Linked DNA regions of Homo sapiens: all the other regions are linked to region 3. Evidence: promoter capture Hi-C in 16 types of primary human blood cells and fetal thymus (Javierre and others, 2016). All regions are on one chromosome and are shown on one strand. Each heading gives the region's core, a stretch centred on a gene start or on the middle of the fragment in contact. The rest is flanking DNA. Distances are from core to core; before and after follow the strand shown.

What was found. Contacts are between HindIII fragments. The CHiCAGO score rates a contact against its expected background, and 5 or more counts as called.
Region 1: a contact is called between a fragment that was not itself captured here and the fragment with the promoter of UNC5A in region 3, in 1 of 17 cell types (M1 macrophages). The highest score is 5.3, in M1 macrophages.
Region 2: a contact is called between a fragment that was not itself captured here and the fragment with the promoter of UNC5A in region 3, in 2 of 17 cell types (M1 macrophages and M0 macrophages). The highest score is 6.9, in M1 macrophages.
Region 4: a fragment that was not itself captured here is called in contact with the fragment with the promoter of UNC5A in region 3 in 1 of 17 cell types (M1 macrophages); the score reaches 6.0 in M1 macrophages.
Region 5: a contact is called between a fragment that was not itself captured here and the fragment with the promoter of UNC5A in region 3, in 1 of 17 cell types (M1 macrophages). The highest score is 6.0, in M1 macrophages.

What each region holds. Positions count from the first base shown.
Region 1 is chr5:176,621,613-176,625,881 of GRCh38, forward strand. All of the region lies in intron 4 of SNCB (synuclein beta), which reads right to left. Among named protein-coding and RNA genes, the nearest start is that of MIR4281, 5.8 kb to the right of the region's middle. The HindIII fragment of the contact is 2,743 bases long and covers 1,060-3,802 here.
Region 2 is chr5:176,603,603-176,608,207 of GRCh38, forward strand. The region is part of intron 1 of GPRIN1 (G protein regulated inducer of neurite outgrowth 1); the gene reads right to left. Among named protein-coding and RNA genes, the nearest start is that of GPRIN1, 4.3 kb to the right of the region's middle. The HindIII fragment of the contact is 3,857 bases long and covers 1-3,275 here.
Region 3 is chr5:176,808,216-176,812,871 of GRCh38, forward strand. UNC5A (unc-5 netrin receptor A) reads left to right here and starts at 2,344. Exons shown (of 15, transcript NM_133369.3): 1 at 2,344-2,605. The coding sequence starts at 2,536. The HindIII fragment of the contact is 10,823 bases long and covers 1-4,656 here.
Region 4 is chr5:176,643,036-176,645,735 of GRCh38, forward strand. EIF4E1B (eukaryotic translation initiation factor 4E family member 1B) reads left to right here. Exons shown (of 9, transcript NM_001099408.2): 4 at 47-231; 5 at 604-699; 6 at 1,341-1,404; 7 at 2,095-2,208; 8 at 2,342-2,481. Among named protein-coding and RNA genes, the nearest start is that of TSPAN17, 3.1 kb to the right of the region's middle. RefSeq lists enhancers at 409-1,050, 1,051-1,690, 2,272-2,700. The HindIII fragment of the contact is 4,593 bases long and covers 1-2,700 here.
Region 5 is chr5:176,581,491-176,585,874 of GRCh38, forward strand. CDHR2 (cadherin related family member 2) reads left to right here. Exons shown (of 32, transcript NM_017675.6): 17 at 1-92; 18 at 2,700-2,769; 19 at 2,920-3,525. Among named protein-coding and RNA genes, the nearest start is that of GPRIN1, 26 kb to the right of the region's middle. The HindIII fragment of the contact is 1,497 bases long and covers 2,179-3,675 here.

The DNA.
Region 1 (4,269 bases), core at 1,181-3,680, 190 kb before region 3:
TTTGTGTCAGGCTCTGTGCTGGGCATCGGGACCCCAGAGATAACCCTCAGGCTCCCCTGGGCTGAAGGGAGCTGGAGGCTCAGGGACAGGGCTGGGCAGGGGCTCTGAGCCATTCCCCCGCCACCTTCCACTCATCCCTCCCCCGGGCCCTGTGTGGCCTCGTTTCTTCAGCTGTTGCTATTTTAAGATAAGCTGGAAGCCACAGCTCGTGGTGTTGCTTGGATGTGTGAGCTAAGACTCTCCCCCCCACCCGCTGCGTCTGCTGCCCAGACAGGCGCAGACCAGCGGGCATGCATGTGGGCGGGCTGCCAGACACATGGCCAGCCACCTGCAGGTGACCACATGTATGTGAACAAACATGGGACTGAGCTGGCTGCACACACAAGCACACGCGATAGCTTAGGATCCATGCACAGCCTGTGCAGTGCCTCATGTGGGGCTGGCACACGCCTGGGATCCCGGAGCATTGGTGCTGGGGAAAGCCTGCCCTGACCACGTCTGCACCCTGGGTGTCCCAGCTCCATCCAGGCAGCGTCAGCTCCTTCACATTACCTGTCTAAGTGGGCCCTGTGGGCACATGAGTTTCCAGCTCCTGACCTGGCTCATTTCCCCACTGCACAGATGCGTATGCCAAGGCCCAGGAGGTGGGGAAATGTTAGTTTGCCCCCAAGTCACCCAGCTATGACCAGAACCCAGGGATGGAATGTAGTGCTAAAAATGCCAGCTTGATAGCTGGGCACTGTGGTGCGTGCCTCTAGTCCCAGCTACTTGGGAGGCTGAGGCAGGAGAATCGCTTGAACCCGGGAGGCGGAGTTTGCAGTGAGCCAAGATCACGCCACTGCACTCCAGCCTAGGTAACAGAGTGAGACTCCATCTCAACAAAACAAAACAAAACAAAACAAAACAAAACAAGCCAGCTTGAGCACATTGTTTGGAAACAACCCAAATGTCCAACATCAGTAGAATGGATGTGTGCCTTGTGACCTAACGACACAATGGAATACTACATAACAAGAATGAAGAACAACAATGCATACAAGAGCAGGGCTGAGTCTCACAAGCTTCCTGATGAATGGAGGAAGCCAGATACAGAACAGAAGAGCATGGCCTTCATGATGACTTTTTTTTTTTTTTTTTTTTTTTTGAGACAGTCTCACTCTGTGGCCCAGGCTGGTGCGCAGTGGTGTGATCTCGGCTCACCGCAACCTCAGCCTCCTGGGTTCCAGCGATTCTCCTGCCTCAGCTTCCCAAGTAGCTGGGATTACAGGCATGTGCCACTGCATCTGGCTAATTTTTGTATTTTTAGTAGAGATGGGGTTTCGCCATGTTGGTCAGGCTGTTCTCAAACTCCTGACCTCAGGTGATCTGCCCACCTCGGCCTCATGCCTGGGATTACAGGCATGAGCCACTGTGCCCAGCCTCATGATAACATTTACAAGAAGTCAAAAAACACCCAACTAGTGTTGTGCTGATAGAAGCCAGGAAGCAAGGCCAGGCATAGTGGCTCACGCCCGTTACCACTCCCAGCATTTTGGGAGGTCAAGGTGGGCAGATCACTTGAGGTCAGGAGTTTGAGACTAGCCTGGCCAACATGGTGAAACCCATCTCTACTAAATATACAAAAATTAGCTGGGCATGGTGGTGCACGCCTGTAGTCTCAGTTACTCAGGAGGCTGAGGCAAGAGCATTGCTTGAACCCAGGAGGTGAAGGTTTCAGTGAGCTGAGATTGTGGCACTGCACTCCAGCCTGGGCAACAGGGCGAGACTCCGTCTAAAAAAAAAGTCAGAAAGCAGTTCCCCTTGGAGGGCGATAGGCAGGGCCAGGACTGAGGGGAGGTGGGTGAGGCTCCTGGAGTGTAGATGTTAGGGAGGCCTGGCCTCCGTCTCCTGGCCATGCAAGTGAGACTCCATGAGTGAGTGCCCCAGACACCTCTTTTGTCTCCCCCTAGTCCTGGCCCTGGGGATAGGAACTGGAAGGGGTCACAAGGTGGGGTCCTGGGGGGTAGTGTTCTGTCTCGAGCTGGCTACTGGTTACAAGGGGAGTTCCCTTTGTGAACATTTCATGGAGCTGCCAGTTTTCCACATGTACATTGTACTTCAATAAAAAGTTCACTTAAAAAAATACCCATAGCCTGTAATCCCAGATACTTGGAGGGCTGAGGCAGGAGGATTGCTTGAGCCCAGGAGTTCCAGATCAGCCTGGGCAACATAGCAGGACCCCATCTCAGAAAACAAACAAACAACCCCAGCCTGGCCACCTGGTAGCTACCTGGCATCAGGCAAGTCATTTTGCTTCTAATCTCAGCAGCCTTGCATGGGAAACGAGGCTGGTGAGGATTCCGTGATGATGGATGGAAAGCATGCTCGAAGCAGAGAGTCTCAGAAATGCAGACCATGGGCCTGCATGAGTCCCCCATGCCGCTGGTGGCCCAAGGGGCTGTTGTCTGTGTTATAACTCTATGATCTTGGGCTCCCTTGGGAGGGTAGCCTTGAGGCGTCAACAAGCACCAGTAGGAGAAAGGTGACCAGAGAGAAATGGTTCTGTGCAAACACCCATCACAGCCTGGGGCTGACAGGCTGAACCTGCCTCTCTTTTGCACCCCAGCTCGCAGCACTAGGACTGGCCCTGTGCCATCACCAAGCGACCCCAGTGACATGGCCTGAGCTTATCCTCCTGACCACCTTATAAGGGAGGCAGGCAGGAAATGGGGTCTTGGGCAAGTGACTTCACTTCTCTAAACCTCAGTCTCTTCATCTGTAAAACGGGCTGGTTATGGTGCCACATTGGGAAGAGTCAATGAGTTAGTTCATCTAGAGTCAAACATCTAGGACAGTGCCTGCTCATGAAAGAGATCAATGAATGGAAGTGATTATTGGTAACATGATTATAAGAAATGGGAAGTCATGGCCGGGTGCAGTGGCTCATGCCTGTAATCCCAGCACTCTGGGAGGCCGAGGCAGGTGGATCACCTGAGGTCAGGAGTTCGAGACCAGCCTGGCCAACATGGTGAAACCCCGTCTCTACTAAAAATACAAAAAATTAGCCGGGTGTGGTAGCGGGTGCCTGTAATTCCAGCAACTTGGGAGGCTGAGGCAGGAGAATTGCTAGAATCCAGGAGGCAGAGGTTGCAGTGAGCCAAGATCGTGCCATTGCACTCCAGCCTGGGCAACAAGAGCAAAACTCCGTCTCAAAAAAAAAAAAAAACAAAAAAAAACAAATGGGAAGTCATACAGATAGTAAAATGCAGAGACAGGGCTTGAACTAGAACTTCTGAGTCAAGATCCTGACTTCCAACAGTGGAAGGAACCAACTGTGCAAAATGACAGGAGTGGAGGGCAGCGTGGGGTCTCCCACAGCCTGGTGGATGCACTCATGCTGAACGTACACTGATCACCCAAACCAGACGCTGCAGAAGGAGCCCCCATCCCCATGGAGGCAGGGTCTGCACGCGTCCATGGACAGACACAGAGCATTCACAGCGAATGCCTGCACACACATGTCATGGGGGATCCACTTCCAGGCACGCCTGTGGTCACAGGATCCCCTGCAGGCAGACCCAGACTGCTTGAGTGATCATGTGGCCACAATCTCTTGCAGGGCATTCACTGTATGCAAACCCAGCTCTTTATATCCATGGTTCTCATAGTATGCTCCCTGGAACTGCGGCATCAACCTCACCCGGGTACTTGTTAGAAATGCAAATCCTCCAGCCCCACCTCAGACCTACTGAATCAGAAATTCTAACGATGGGGCCAAAAATCTGTATTTTAACCTGGCCTCTTGGTGATTGATACACACTCAAGCTTTGAGAATATCTATATTATCTCCAATCTGCATGAGATTCCTATTGTGTTCACTCGCATTTTACAAGTGAACTATCAAGTTCAGAGACATGGTGGGAACTGCCCAGGGTCACACAGCCAGGAAGTAGTGGAGTTAGGATTCAAACCCAGCTGAGGCTGGGGGTAGGTGGGTTCAGAGCTCACAACTCTTAACCCCCTCTTATCAGGGGGTCCTAGTAGGGGGATCTGTCTCCATGCACACATGAGTGGTTCCCAGGGCTCCCCTGGGGAAACACAACTGCACAGATCACACCCACCCCAGCACAGCTCCCACCTGCTCCAACCTGCCTCAGGGCCTTGGTACTTGCTGTTCCTACAGCCTGAAATTCGCTTCCCACACATCTCAAGGCTGCCTCTCTCATCCCTTGGGTGTCAGCTCAAATGGTTCTTCCTCAGAGAAGTCTTCCCAGCCAAAATAGCCCTCTC
Region 2 (4,605 bases), core at 97-2,596, 210 kb before region 3:
GGAACAGTTTTGCAGAGGATCATGGGGCACTGGGTTTCGGAAGTGGAACTGGAGTGCCCATGGGACTTATGGGGGGTGACATCCAGGAGGCAGTAGGAAGCAGGCCAGAAGCACGGGAGAGGTCTGGTTGGAATTCGTGGGATCACTGGATGGTCACCAGCCTGCAGGGGTCAGGCAGGCATCAGATTTGAGTGGCGTGAATTGAGTCCATCTTCATCTTTGGCCTTTTGATAGTGATATGGGCACAAATATTTGTTTTCTCCTACAAGGGAGATGATGAAAGACTCCTGACATCCCCAGACTGAGGGAGACAAGAGGGAGTGGTGGGGACTGTGGCAAACTAGAGGGCACTGGCCCCTTCTAAAGGGGCAACGGCACTCAATTCCTGCCAGCTGTGGCCAATTAGGAATCATTCCATTAACTCAGCATTTACTGAGCACACAGGCAATGTTCTAGGCATTATTCTTGGGACTGGGGATACAGCAGTGAATAAGAAATGTGGGGTCCCTGCCTTATAGATGCAGAAAGATTGGGAGGAGAGAAATAAACAAGTGGCAAATAAATCATAGTATTTCAAATAATGGATGCTGTGAAGACAAAGGAGTGGGCAGCTGGTTTAGACATGTGGTCAAGAAAGGCCCCTCTGAGGCAGTTACCATCTGAGCCAGCCATGAAGAGCTGGAGTGGAGTCGGAAAGGGGGTGGCAGCGGAAGAGGAGGCAGCAAATCACATGAGGCATGGTGGAGGAGGGGGGTTTAGCCTAAGGGCACTGGAAACCCTGGAAGTATTTTCTTTTTATTTGAGACAATGTCTCACTCTGTTGCCCAGGCTGGAGTGCAGTGGCGCGATCTCGGCTCACTGCAGCCTTGACCTCCTGGGCTCAAGTGATCCTCCCACCCCAGCCTCTCAATGTAATAGGATTATACCTTGATCTCTTGAGGCCAAGAGTTCCAGACCAGCATGGGCAACATAGCAGGATCTCGTGTCTACAATAGGATTATACCTAGCGCCTAGTGAGCCACTGTATCCCGCCCCTTGGAAGTATTTAAGCAGGGAAGTGAATGTGGCCGCTGTGCCTCCAGGTTTCCTAAATTTTTTTTTAGCTAAGTCATAAATCTGGATATCTGTATTTTATTTATTTATTTATTGAGACAGAGTTTTGCTCTTGTTGTCCAGGCTGGAGTGCAATGGTGCTATCTTGGCTCATTGCAACCTCTGCCTCCCAGGTTCAAGTGATTCTCCTGCCTCAGCCTCCCAAGTAGCTGGGATTACAGGCATGCGCCACCATGCCCAGCTAATTTTGTATTTTTAGTAGGGACAGGGTTTCTCCATGTTGGTCAGGCTGGTCTCGAACTCCTGACCTCAGGTGATTTGCCTACCTTGGCCTCCCAAAGTGCTGGGATTACAGACATGAGCTACCGCGCCCAGCATGGATATCCATGTTTTAAATATTGGCTAATTTAAAAAATATCATACAGGCTAAACAAAACACTTTTTTTTTTTTTTTTTGAGACAGAGTCTTACTCTGTCACCCAGGCTGGAGTGCAGTGGTACAATCTCAGCTCACTGCAACCTCTGCCTCCCGGGTTCAAGCAATTCTCGTACCTCAGCCACCCGAGTAGCTGGGGCTACAGGCGCACATCACCATGCCCAGCTAATTTTTTAAATTTTTACTAGAGACAGAGTTTCACCGTGTTGGCCAGGGTGGTCTCGAACTTCTGGCCTCAAGTGACTGGCTGCCTTGGCCTCCCAAAGTGCTGCGATTACAGGCATGGTCCACCATGCCCGGCCAAAACACTTTCATGAGCCAACTTTGACCCCTAGGTCACCAGCTTGCAACCTCTGATCCATCTGGCCCTTGGCCTATGGAAAAGGACGTTATAAGCCAGGGTGACCGGGAAGATGGTCAAGGGAAAGGGCCCTGGGGCGGAGTTCCGCGGCTGTAATCCCAGTGCTTTGGGAAGTCAAGGTGGGATGACTGCTTGAGGCCAGGAGTTCCAGATCAGCATGGGCAACACGGCAAGATCCCGTCTCTACAAAAACTTTAAATTAAAATTAAAAAAAAAAAAGAAATTAGCCAGGTGTGGTGGCATGTACTTATAGTCCTGCCTGCTCCAGAGGCTGAGGCAGGAGGATCTCTTGAGTCCAGGAGTTTGAGGCTGCAGTGAGCTATGATCAGCCTGGGTAACAGAACAAGAAACTGTCTTTAAAACAGAGACAGGGAGAGAGAGAAAGGGCCCAGGCTCCAGTGAGGGCCAGGATCTGCCTACCATGCCTGCCTGTTTCCTTCTCTGGAAAACAGGAATTCAACAGCTGCCTGGCTGGTGTACAGGGAGTTTAGCTGGAGCTGGAAGGAGTCAGCAAAGGATATAGGAAGGGTGCTCTGGGCCCTCACTACCCCTCATTTCAGCCCTGGAAGCCCAGCCCTGGGGTCCTCACACACCAGCCCAGCCAATAAGCTCCTCTCCCTGGGTGCAGCCCGGGCAGAAAGTCAGGCCAGCCCACCGCTTATCAGCTCTGTGACTTCAAGCAACGCCCTTCTCCTCCTTGGGGACCCTGAAGAACCCACCTCCTGCTCCCCCAGGGCTATAGTGAGAATTAAAGAAAATGAGGGGTGTGCCTGACTCTGCTCACTTTAGGGCTGGGCTGTGTCTGTGGAAGGCCTGTTTTTATCTGCTCAGCCTGTCAGAGCCCAGCTGTGCTCCCAGGAGGGGGCAGGGGAGGAAAGGGTCTGCAGCAGGGACACAAACCAGCAAAACCTGACCCTCAGACAGGCTTGTTTGACCCACAGAGCTAAACACATTTTAAAATCAGTTTTAAAAAGGAATTAACCGATCAACTTCTAAACATTAGAAGATTTCATGTGACAGTAAGATTTCCAGCTTCTCTTGGAAAACTAAAATTTGGCAGTCTGAGCGTGCTTCCTGCCTGGCAACATTCAGCTGGAGCCCCAAAGGGACAGCCTCCTTAGATGGGGGTGTACTCTCCAATCAGCCACAATCCCCCCTCTTCCCCACGGTGTCCTAGACACTGAGGCTGACTGTCTGCTGCCATCAATCATGGAATTCTCACTGTCGTTTTTCTCACAGCCGGCCCTTCATGTATGTTACCCTCCTGGCCTGTAGCCACCTGAGTGTGGACCCTGGAGCACAATGCCATGAAAGGCAGAGGTGACCTTGTACAAGTCGAGCCCTTACTATGTGCAAATCCCACCCGCCTGCCAGGCAGCTGTTGTAGTCCTGTTTTCCAGAGGAAGAAACAGGTTCTAAGAGGCAAGCTTGGCTCAGCTGATAACATGCCCCTTCTGAAAGTCCCCAGGCTTCCCGTCCCCAACTTGTATTTTCCAGCCTCTGAGATGGGATAAAGTCCAGGGTAGGGACAGAGAGCCTGGTCAGGGAGGTAGAAAGATGTGGGGTCAAGCCCCAGCTTAGTCATTGACATCCTCTATGACTCTGAGTGAGTTTTTCTACTCCGTGGGTCTCAGTTTTCCAATCTGTGAAATGGGAGAGGGGATGTAGTTACATCTGGAAGAGATAGGCCAGCCCTGGGTTTCAGAACTGCCCCAAGACCACTCCCAGAGGCTCTACTGCTCACAGTTCTGCTGGGCCCTTCCTGGATCTTGGGGAGGCCTGAGGATCCTCGAGCTGCTTCTCTGAGAGGCAGCCCAGGCCTGAGGCCCCACATTCTCTCCCCGCAACTACCCCACTAGAACCCAGCTCCATTACCTGGGCCCAGCACGCTCACTGTCTTTCTTTTTTTGAGACCGAGTCTTGTTTTGTTGCCTAGGCCGGAGTGCAGTGGCATGATCTCGGCTCACTGCAATCTCCACCTTCCAGGTTCAAGTGATTCTCCTGCCTCAGCCTCCCGAGTAGCTGGGATTACAGGCATGTGCCACGACACCTGGCTAATTTTTGTATTTTTTGTAGAGACAGGGTTTCACCATGTTGTTTAGGCTGGTCTTGAACTCCTGGCCTCAAGTGATCCACCCACCTCGGCCTCTCAAAGTGTTGGGATTACAGGCATGAGCCACTGCACCCGGTCTCAGTCTCTTTTTATCATCTGGATCCCACAACAATCTCATGAGGGGGGCATTATCATCCCATTTCACAGATGAGGCCACTGAAGTCAGAGGGAGAAGACTTGACCAAGGGCACACAACTGGGGCACACAACTGGGGCACACAACTTGGTCAAGACTTGACCAAGGGCACACAACTGAGGGAAGGCTGTAGCTCAAAGCCAGTTGTGCCCAAGCACAAAACCTGAGTTCTTTCTAAGATCGTGGACACTGACACTTGGCTCTTTTTTTTTTTTTTTTTTTTTTTTTTTTTTTTTTTTTCTGAAGACAGGGTCTCACTCTGTTACCCAGGCTAGAGTGCAGTGACACAATCATACCTCCCTGTAGCCTCCAACTCCTCAGCTCAAGCAATCTTCCCTCATCAGACTCCTAAGTAGCTATAGGCATGCGCCATCACACCCAGCTAATCTTTAAATTTTTGTAGAGATGGGGGTCTTGGTATGTTGCCCAAGCTTGTCTCAAATTCCTGGCCTCAAGCAATCCTCCTGCCTGGGCTTCTCAAAGTATTGGGATTACAGGTATGAGCCA
Region 3 (4,656 bases), core at 1,094-3,593:
CAGGACTGCATGTGAGGATCAAGCCAAATTATAAATGTATGCAAGGACATAGTGGTGTCCAGCATACTTTTTTTTTTTTTTTTTTTGAGACGGAGTCTTGCTTTGTCGCCCAGGCTGGAGTGCAGTGGCATGATCTTGGCTCACTGCAACGTCCGCCTCCCAGGTTAAAGCAATTCTCCCTGGCTCAGCCTCCTGAGTATCTGGGATTACAGGTGCCCACCACCACATCTGGCTGTGTGTGTGTGTGTGTGTGTGTGTGTGTGTGTGTGTGTGTGTATTTTTAGTAGAGATGGTGTTTCGCCATGTTGGCCAGGCTGGTCTCAAACCCCTGACCTCAAGCGATCCACCCACCTCAGCCTCCCAAAGTGCTGGGATTACGGTGTGACCCACCACACCCGGCCATCCCTTTAGACAGAGCATACACTATTATAATGTCATCTTATACCCCAGCCCTCAATCCTCTTCCTTCATCCTCAGCCACCAGCCTCCAGTGCCCAATCCCCAGTGGGCCCCAAGGGCAGATCCTGCCACTGACTCTCCTCTCCCACCCACCTCTTTCCTGCAGAGGCTGAAGAGGGGTGTTATGGTGCCAACAGGAGCAGCCTGGGCACACACTGCTCCTACACACACACACACACACACACACACACACACACACGAGACATGTGAGTTGATCAGGCCCTGACACCGTGTACATTCAAACTGCCCCGAAAGCAAAGTTCCCAAACCAGAAGGTGGTGAACACTTTCCCCTGGGCTCACATGAAGTCTAAAAAATTATTTTTTACTAGTTAAAAATTTTAAATCAGAATATTTCACATACGACGGCTTCTGTTGAAAATTTGGAAGATGCGGCTATACTGTGCCCCGGTCCCCTCCCCCGACAACCAGCACCTGGAGCAGAAAAGGCAGCTGCCCCTTGAGATGGGATCCTTGTGCCTGTCCCCAGCACTGCCCTTTGCCTCCCTGGCGATGGAGCCCAGCGTCTGTATGGTTGCCTCTGGAGCTTTAGCTGGTGTTTTTTATAGTAGACTTAAGAGGAAAGCAAAACATTTTTCATAACCCTTCTCTATCAAAAGTGGGAAACAAAAGACAGACCGAGAGAGGGCCTCGTGTCTCAAGAAATATAGGAGAGCTCATATCTCTTTGTGGAAGCAAGACCATCCCTTACATCGCCTAGCCTGCAGCGCCAATTTATATTATCGACCGGCCCCGTAGGCGTTTGAGTTTGCGACCCTGCCCTCACCCTGCTCATTCCCCTCCCGACCCAGACTAGGACCCTCTCTTTTTCCGATCACTCCCCCCAGGCACACCGCACGCGGCTGTCATTTCCTTTCTCCTTCAAGGCAGCCCTCTGTTTATTTTAACCCGATTAGGGAATGGGGGTGGGGCACAGGAGACTCCAGCAGCGGTCACTGCTGGAGGCTCCAGGAGACGACGTGACTTGACCAAGGTCACAGAGCTGGAAGGTGAAGTCGCCTGGACCCTACCCCCGGTCTCCCTAGCTGCCAAAGCCCAGCTCGTTCCTTTACACCCACGTCGCGGGCGCCGTGCGCTCTCGGGGCTCAAACACCGCGCGCCCAGTCGGGTGTGCTGCGCCTGAAGGTTGTTTTCCTTCGGCGAACGGCGCCGAGGGGTTAGGGAAACCTTGGGTCATGGTGTGAGGCGCGCCCCTGGAATCCACCAGCCTGCGAGGCTGGGACTGCGGGTGTCCCCGAGTCTGGCCTGCCAGCTCTGGTGGCCAGGGCACCTCTGCGCGCGGGCCAGGGCCCCGGGGCTCTCCCGCAGTCCCCTAACCAAGCCGCGGGCTGGCAGCGTACCGCGGCGCCCGGACGACCCCGGAGCGCGGCCGCGAGGAAAGGGCGGGGGAGAGGACTGCAGCGGAACCTGCCCGGGGCACCCCTGCCCTGGGCGGCTCTCCGCAGGCTGGCGCCGCGCCGGGGTCGCCGCAGCCCCGGGCCCCTCCCGGGCCACCTGTGCGCAGACTGGCGGGCCCGCGAGAGCCCGGATCCGGAGCACCGATCCACTCCGGGTTTCAGACTCCTGCCCCTGTCCCTGGAGACCCCGCGGGGCGGTGGGAGGCCTCCACGCCCACCACCCCAAGCCCCTCCCTGGGGGAGCCTCAGGCATCGCCCAGAGGGATTCCCGGTGCTGGGGGTGGCCCGCGCGCGCTGCGCGGGGCGGCCCGGCCCCTCCTTCCTTCCCCCGCCCCTCCCAGCCGCCGCCCCGCTCCGTCGCTCCAGTCCGGGTTTTGCGGCGCCCACCGGCCCGCTCTCCGGCTGCGGGCTCCGCGGCGCGGCTGGCTCGGTGCGCGGCGCGGCTGGCGCTGCGCTCCGCCCCGGCTGCATTGCTGCGCTCCCGTGCCCAAGGGAGCCACGCGCCGCGTGCGCCCGGCAGCCGGCCGCCCGGAGGCAGCGCAGTCCGCTGGCATGGGCCCCGGGGGCGCCCCGAGCTGGGGCTCCGGGCTGAGGCGCTAAAGCCGCCCTCCCGCCCGCGGGGCCCCGCGCCCGGCCCGCCCGCCTGCCCGCCCGCGGCCATGGCCGTCCGGCCCGGCCTGTGGCCAGCGCTCCTGGGCATAGTCCTCGCCGCTTGGCTCCGCGGCTCGGGTGAGTCACGCCGCGCGCGCTCTGGGGAGGCTTGCGGGGGACCGTGCGCGCGAACGCTCGCTGCTCTGGGGGTCCCTGACCAGCGCTGCCAGACCCGGCTGGGAGCCCCCCGAGGCCAAACTTTGCGAGGCGGGACGCGGGGGGCTCTTCTTGCTGCTGCGCAGCTTCCCCGCGCGCTCTCCCGGAAGCCTGGGTTCTGCCAAGTCCAGGAGCAGCTGTCAGCCCGCGGGGCTGGCGAGTGTAGACACCCCACGCCTCCGGGTGGGGGAAGTTTGCTGGTTGCCTGGGCCCGGAGCAGGGCTGGGGGTTTGGATCAACCCCAGGGAGCCTGACTTTGAGGATTCGAAGATTAGAGGGTTTTGAGCCTATCCCAGTGCCCAGGAAATGGGGGGTGCGGGGAACGTTTAAGATACCTCTTCCCGGTAGCATCTGCCCTAAACAGCCACTCACAATCTCCCAGCTTGGCACCTGGCCTCTGCCCACGTCCAGAACACAGTGTCCTCCTCTGTCCCCGCCACACACGCTCTCACACGCACACACTCAGGCGTGGAGGCGCATACACCAGCCCCCAGTCCTTGCAGCCAGCACAGTCAAAGCGCCGCGGTCCCGGTGGCCGGGGCTGTGGCTCCTGGCCTCCCTGGTGCGGGGGGCCAGAGTTGTGTGTGGTTGGTCCGCCAGTTTCCCCTTCTTCCTTAAACTCCATAGCCTTTCTTGGCCCCTGCATGCCCCATTGGTCACCCTAACCCACTGCTAACTCAGCCCTCAGCCCACCTCATTCCCTTGGGAGGGGCTTGGGGGGAGGAAGTTCCCCTGCATCCTTTGTCTGCTGTCCCTGAGCCTTCACCTAGGCTGAGCTGTGGGGGCCTCCTGATCTCTGCCCCCCATGCACTTAGCTGAGTTGAGCGTATGTGTCTGTGGTGGTGGGGGGTGGGTGCCATTTGTGTGGTCAAGGGGGCTTGAGGCTTACCCTGGCAATTCTCGATTCTTGCTGCCCCTAGAACCTGGGCGGTTACTCCCCAGCCTGGCCAGGCCGCTGCTTATAACAGGGGTGTTGGAAGGGAGCACTGGGGTTTCTGAGCTGCCAAACCAGATTGATCAGAGATCAATGAGTGGGAGCTCAGGAGCCAGCCTGATGATTGAGGCCGATGGCTGTTTCCTTAAAGGGTGTCTCTGCGCAGCGCATCCTGCACCCACCACTGCCTGACCGCCCGCCCCATCCTGCCTCCTCAGTACCCCTCTCTACTCCATCCCACCCCTTCTATCTCCCTTCTCCATCAGCACCCCTCTTCTTCCCCAGGGCCTCTCCTTCTAATCCTGACCAAGCTGAGAGGCTGAACTGCTGTTGGGTGTGTGTCCGTGTCCGCCACATGTGTGTGTTAGGGGCGTGTGTGCAGCTCCGCAGATGAGCACCCGGGTGCAGGTTGCACTGTTGTCCATGATGAGGTGGGGATATTAGTGCCCCACACACAGGTGGGGTGTTGCCTGACACCCAGTAGGTACCCTGGAAATGTTTTCTGAGTTGATGCTTTTGAGGGCTGTGTGGTCATAGCTGCATGTCGCCCACGTGAGCACGTGTGAAGGCTGTGGGTTGACATGTGTGCCCGGGTAACCAGGGGGGTTGGCATGGTGTGTGCAGCATTGGCATGTGTGTGCCCTGATGAACGTGTGTGATGACCAGCATGCCGCACGTGTGTGACGGCTGTGTGCAGTTGCACAGGTGAGCGTGTACAGATAAGGGGGCACAGGTACCGGTGAAGCAGGGTGCTGCGGCCTGGAGCGGGGGGTTGCCACAGGGACTCCTCAGGAGGCTGTGGGGGTGGGGAAACTGCATCCCTGGTTGGCAGGGCATCTGTTGAGGCCTGGCCCAAGGTTGCCCAGGGAGTCGGCAGGTGGGCACAGGTGCTGCAGGGGCTGACGCAGAGCCTGCCCCAAGGCATCAACTCTGCCCCTGGGCCTGCGGGAGGAGCTGCTGAAGGCCATGGGGTGGGGAGGGGCTGGCCCTACTTCTTTGGGACTCCCTTCCCCCTGTGCCCCACAGGCACTGGGCACAT
Region 4 (2,700 bases), core at 14-2,513, 170 kb before region 3:
CAGGGCCAGAGCTCACAACCCATCCTGACTCCTTTTTTTGGCTCAGGTGAGTGAAGCTGAGGGTGGAATCCGAGAGTGGGAGGAGGAGGAGAAGGAGGAGGAGGCAGCAGAGAGGACGCCCACAGGAGAAAAGTCTCCAAACTCTCCCAGGACTTTGCTGTCTCTGAGAGGGAAGGCCCGGACGGGGGGCCCCATGGAAGTCAAGCTGGAGCTGCACCCCTTGCAGAACAGGTAGGCAGGAGCCTGCGAGTGGAACACAGCCCCTTGCTTTCAGGCCAGCCTCTGTGCTGGCAGCGTGGCCTTGGGCAACCCCGCCTCTCTTGGCCCTAGCTCTTCATCCGTGGGAGGCCAGGGCTGACCTAAGCCTTGGGCCCTGTTGGCCCTTCCAGCCCTAACCCCGCAGAGACTGTGGGTCAAACACCCCCACTCCTCCCCTGCCCTTCAGGACAACTGATTTCATTCACCTGAGAGGGGAATGCTGTGCCCCAAATCTCATCTCCCAGTTCGCCCTTGAAGGGGAGGGTCCTCCCTGTCAGTCCAGGTGCCCCGGGGGTGGACTTGGCTCTCTGCTTCCTCCTGGCTGCCTCCCCCTTCCCCTACCAGGTGGGCTCTGTGGTTCTTCAAGAATGACCGCAGCCGGGCCTGGCAGGACAACCTGCACCTGGTCACCAAGGTGGACACTGTGGAGGACTTCTGGGCGTGAGTGTCTGTCCCCAGTGGGGCTAGAGTTGGGGGGCTCTGAGCTCTGGGCTCCCTCTCTCCGGGTTGAGCCAGCCCTCCCTAGGGCCTTTCAGCCTTTGTGAGGGCTGGGGCTTTGTGGGTTCTGCCCAGGGGGTATAGGGCACAACCACCCCCCACCCCACCACCTTCTTTGGGCTCAGGGAGAGAGCCTGGGGAGCAGGAGAAGCAGGAAGCTGACCTTGACTCGGCCACTCCAGGGCTTTGTGACCTGGGCAAGTTCCTTCCCCTCTCTGAACCTGTCTCAGCTGCAAAGGGAGGACTCGGCTGCCTCAGTGTCCGGGTGCTCACGGGAGTGGCTCTGAAAAGGGCTACACAAGCCCTAGGGAGGGTGAGAAGGCCTCGGCTGTAGCTGGAGGGGGGAGCACCAGGGGGTCTAAAACCCTCCCCAGGGGTTGGCTCAGCCTTCACTGGGAAGGCTCTGTGGAAAAGGTGGGTCTTGAGAGTTTGGATAAACGGGAGTGGAATCCCAGGTGGCAGGCCAGTGTAAGCAAAGGCTTGGAGGCCATGGGGTCGGATGAGGAGTTGGGAGGGCTGAACCCAGTTGGAACCAGGCCCTAAAAAGCCTTGACTTTTGGCATGGGGTCGGGGGCTCTGTCCAGGCTATACAGTCACATCCAGCTGGCCAGCAAGCTCTCCTCTGGCTGTGACTACGCCCTCTTCAAGGTAAGCTCTGCTCTCCTCTTTCCCTCCCGCAAAGGGACAAGGGGTTGATCCCTCCCGGACTCCACTGCGTTAATCCCTCAGAGGGGTGGGGGTGGGGAGCTACGGGCCACCTCTCAGCAGAGTTGTGGTTTCTGACTGGAGGAAATGCTCTACAGGAGCCCGGACAGAGTAGGTCAGGCCCAAGCCGCACCTTGGAGGACCTTAAGAGGCGGGAAGAGGGAGAGGGAGAGATTTCTGACCTGGCTCCTTAACTAGGGAAGGGCATCAGAATTGCTTGAGGACACTCATTGATGCCACACCCATCCCTGGAGGGCTGACATTGTGTTTAGAGATCTCCCCAGTGACTTCTGCCCTGCCTGGGAACCATGCAGCCAAGCCTGGGATGTCCCCCTTGCCTGCATTGGGGTCTGCCCCTGAGGCTTCCTTAATCCACCCCGATTTGAATGCTTGTCTTAAGGAACTCAGTAAAAGAGACATGCACATATACAAGGCTATACAAGGTGACCAGTGCTGTCTGTCGGGGGGAGCTGAGTGGCTGGGGGTGGAACCTGCTTGCACTGAGGGAAGGGAGGATAAGAGAATCTGGCCTACTTAGGGCCTCAGCAGAGAGCGGATAAGGCCGGGATGGTGGGTGGGTCCCCATTTCCCTTTGAACACAGGGAGGCAGTTGACTTGCCATCTGCCTTGCAGGATGGCATCCAGCCCATGTGGGAGGACAGCAGGAATAAACGGGGTGGCCGCTGGCTGGTCAGCCTGGCCAAGCAGCAGCGCCACATTGAGCTGGACCGGCTGTGGCTGGAGACGGTGAGTTGGAGGAGGAGGGTCCTCAGGGGAAGAGACGGGCTGTGTGGGTCTCATGGTGGCAGTGGTCTCAAGGATGGCAGGCCAGTCCCTATGTCCCAGCCGGTGATCTCACAACCCCCTACTTCGGGTCCAGCTGCTGTGTCTGATCGGGGAGAGCTTTGAGGAACACAGCAGAGAGGTATGTGGGGCCGTCGTCAACATCCGCACCAAGGGGGACAAGATCGCTGTGTGGACGAGGGAGGCGGAAAACCAGGCGGGCGTGCTGCACGTTGGGTGAGGAGGGTCTCTGGCACAGGGTGGGGACTTGGGTCTCTGCTAGAGGGAAGGTGGGTGGAGGGGGCTTGGCCTGCATGGGAGACCTCTGAAAGTCTCCATAGCCTCCCTCCCTTCTGCCTTGCCCACCTGTATGGAAGGTCTGGCGTTCAGATTTCTAACTTTCTCTTACGGCAGTGCAGCTCTCCTTTTGCATTAAGGGGGTCATATTTTGGGTTT
Region 5 (4,384 bases), core at 1,677-4,176, 230 kb before region 3:
CCCTGGAGGGCCGCATTGTGCTGACAGTGCTTGTGTCTGACTGCGGCGAGCCTGTCCTCGGCACCAAAGTCAATGTCACCATCACTGTGGAGGTAAGGCCTCGCTTAGCCAGGATGGGCCTGGGGGCCTCCCAAGCCGATAGCCAGCCCCTCCAGCTTGAGTCACACTTCTGCCCTCTGCAGCCAGCCTGCCTGGGTTACAATCCCGCTCACTCGTATGGCCCCAGGCAATTACTCAACCTCCCTAGGCACTCAGGCTCCTCATCTATAAAACGGGGGTGAAAAAGGTTAAAGATTAAGTGAGTTAATGAATGGAAAGTGCTTGGTAGAGTGCCTGACCTATAGACAGTATCAGTGAATATCAGCTCTAATTGTCACTCATAAAGTCCCACCTGAAACCCTCCTGTCTCCCTGCCACCATTGAAAAGCAAAGGGAAGGGGTGAAAATCAGCATTGCTGGTGTCTATTGCACATCAGGGCATCCGCCAAGGTTGGGATGGTTATTACCATTTTGTTTTTATTTATTTATCTATTGATTTATTTATTTTTGAGACAGGGTCTCCCTTTGTCACCCAGGCTGCAGTGCAATAGTGCCATCATGGCTCACTGCAGACTCAACCTCCCAGGCTCAAGCGATCCTCCTGCCTCAGCCTCCTGAGTAGTTGGGACTATAGGCATATGCCACCATGCCTGGTTAATTTTTTTATTTTTGTAGAGATGGGGTTTTTCCATGTTGCCCAGGCTGGTCTTGAACTCCCGAGCTCAAGCGATCCACCCGCCTTGGCCTCCTAAGTAGCTAAGACTAAAGATGCGTGCCACCATGCCTGGCTAATTTGGCTAATTTTTAAAATTTATTTTTCATAGAATCAGAGTCTCACTTATTGTCCAGGCCAATTTTGAACTGTTGGCCTCAAGCGACCCTCTCAACTCAGCCTCACAAAATGCTGGGATTACAGGCATAAGTCACTGAGCCCGGTTTATTACCGTTTTATTGATTGAGCAACTGAGGCGGGCCTAGTTGCTGTGGCTCATGCCAAAAACCTCAGTACTTTGGGAGGCCAAGGTGAGAGGATTGCTTGAGCCCAGGAGTTTGAGACTGGGCTGGGCAACATAGCGAGACCCCATCTCTACTAAAATAAAAAATTAGCCAGGCATGGTGGCATGTACCTGAAGTCCCAGCTACTTGGAAGGCTGAGGCAGGTGGATCATTTCAGCCCAGGAGGTTGAGGCTGCGGTGAGCTATGATCATGCCACTGCAATCCAGCCTGTGAGACAGAGCAAGACCCTGTCTCAAAAAAAGAAACTGAGGCACAGAGAGGTTCAGTACCTTGCCTGGGGGTCACAAAATTGGGTTTTGACTTCAATCAGTCTGGTTCTAAGGCTGCCACCAGCCCACAAGGCACCTTCCTCTGGAACAGTATTGTGACAAATGTGCACCTCTGCCGTGTCTGTGATGTGGATGGCACCCCATAGGGTTGTGCAGTGCACAGCCTGCACCACTGCACATAGCAGCCCTGTGTCCCCTGGACTGGGATGTGCCATTTTCACACAAGGGTCAGAGAGTGAGACCTCAGAAATGAAGAAAACGAAGCAGAATGAGGACTTGCTGGTTGTCCTTAGGGTGGGAGGGCTGCAAAGAGAGAACTTCATTTCCTGAGTGAACAGGTTTCTTCACCCCTGTGAGCCGTCCTCACAATTGCCCTATTAGTGGGGACTACTACCCCATTTTGCAGATGAGGACACTGAGGTCCAGAGAGGTCAAGGTCACACATGAGGCAGAGGTGGAGCAAGATGTGACTCAGTGCTCTTATCCACTCCTGTGAGTTAGGGTGACCTTGAGAATGCAGCTGGTCTTGTGCGTGGAGCCAATGATGTCATCGCTGGGAAATTAGCAGCAGAAAAGACATCTAGCTAAGGTGCAAGAATGTTGTCTTCCAAATGTTCATTCTAGGGTTATTCAGAAAAACAAACACCTGTTATGTGACCCACAAACCTGGGAAGGGCTGGAGTGCTCAGGGCATCCCCCAAGCACATGCCAGTGTTAGGAGACATAGGGGAGGGCAGAGTCACCTCCAGGCTGTGACAATAGTTGCAGGGCTCCAGCTGTGCCCAGTGGGCTAGGGCTGGCCACAGAGGTGAGAGCCAAAAACAGCTGGTGTCTGAGGCAGGAGCAGGTCTAAGCTTCTGCAGGTCCCCGGAGCCCAGCTCTGACTGAGCACAGAGCTGGTGTTGTGGGCTCAGTTGTGTGCAGGAGGGACAGGGGTAGGAGGGGACAAGGGAAAGTGTGGGCCTTGGAGCCTTTGTGGACATATAATGGTATTGGTGCCAACACAATAAATCCGAGAGATGGGAGTCAAGCTGGGCCAGGCAGGGTCGCAGGTGGGGACCCAGAACTGTGCTTCTAGAAAGCAGGGTCTAGAACAAGTCCTGAGCTGTGGTCAGAGAAACAGGAAGCAAGCAGGGCTTCCTGAGGATGGATGTGTAAGGCCAAGGTCCCACTGTAGGTCCCTGAACCCCGGGTGTGTGACCTGGGCAAGTTCCCTCCTCTCAGAGCCTGTCTCCTCATCTGGGAAGTGGGCAGTGAGGTCTGAGGCACTAGTAGAGTCCATGCCTTGGAGCACAGGGATTATTGGTTTCTCGGATTGGCTCTGGGGAGGGTGAGATTGGATCCCGGGGACTCAGACCTGTCTCTGACTGCAGGACATCAATGATAACCTGCCCATCTTCAATCAGTCCAGCTACAACTTTACGGTGAAGGAGGAGGATCCAGGTATGTGCTCCCTGGGCCAGGAGAGACACTGCGGCTGGGACCCAGTGTGGCTTTGTCAGGGTGGACCTCGAGTTCCAAGAGAGGCAAGGGCAGAGGAGGCTTCCGATGGCGGGGTCAGGAGTCCTTCTGAGCTCTGCCCCTTGTCCACAGGAGTGCTAGTGGGCGTGGTGAAGGCCTGGGACGCGGACCAGACGGAAGCCAACAACCGCATCAGCTTCAGCCTGTCGGGGAGTGGTGCCAACTACTTCATGATCCGAGGCTTGGTGCTGGGGGCTGGGTGGGCTGAGGGCTACCTCCGGCTGCCCCCGGACGTGAGCCTGGATTACGAGACACAGCCCGTCTTCAACTTGACAGTGAGTGCTGAGAACCCAGACCCCCAGGGGGGTGAGACCATAGTAGACGTCTGCGTGAATGTGAAAGACGTGAACGACAATCCCCCCACCCTGGATGTAGCCTCACTCCGGGGCATCCGTGTGGCTGAGAATGGCTCACAGCACGGCCAGGTGGCTGTGGTGGTTGCCTCGGATGTGGACACCAGTGCCCAGCTGGAGATACAGCTTGTGAACATTCTCTGCACCAAGGCCGGGGTCGATGTGGGCAGCCTATGCTGGGGCTGGTTCTCAGTGGCGGCCAACGGCTCTGTGTACATCAACCAGAGCAAAGCCATCGACTACGAGGCCTGTGACCTGGTCACGCTGGTTGTGCGGGCCTGTGACCTAGCCACGGACCCCGGCTTCCAGGCCTACAGCAACAATGGTAAGGCAGCCTGTCCTTGCAGGGCTTGGCAGGCCATAGCTTAGGGGCCGCGGGAAGGAGCCCTGGGCTGGAACTCACAAGGTCTGGGCTCAGATCTTGGCTCCAGCCCTTTCCAGCTGCAAATACTGGGAAAGTCCCAAACCCTCTCCAAGCTTCAGTTTCCCCATCTGTCCAGTGGAGTTGGGCAGTGGGGTGGGCTGTGAAGATTCAATGAGAATATGGATGTATGGCATTTATTGCAGTGCCTGGCATGCAGTAGCATCAAATTAATGCCATTATTTTACAAGATGCTGTGAAAGAAAGATAACACTGCAGAGCTAGATGTGTGCTTGTATCCCACTTCTGACACCAAATAGCAATAATAATCACATTAACAACTAGCATATATTGAGTCCTTATGACAGCCAAGAACTACACCAGGCACCTTGTAAGAATTTTTCCACTTCCACACAACCCATGGGGTAGGTGTTCCCTATCCAATTTTATAGATGAGGAAACTGAGGCAGAAAGTGGGTATTTAAACAACCAGCTTATATAGTTAGAATGTGTCAGTATAATGTCATAGGTGAGATCTACCTAGGCTGGGCCCAATCCTGGCCCACCACTATTGCTGTGTGACTTTGACAAGCTGCTTATCTGCTCTGAGGTCTGGGATGATACTCCCACCCACACAGGCCAGAGAAGACCGATCAGGCATTCTGGGTCAGGAGCAGGGAAGGGGACTGAGCATGGGGGAACACATGGGAGAGAAGCTGCGGGGCATGGGGTTGAGGCTGCGGGGCACGGGGTTGAGGCTGCGGGGCACAGGGTTGAGGCTGCGGGGCACGGGGTTGAGGCTGCGGGGCATGGGGTTGAGGCT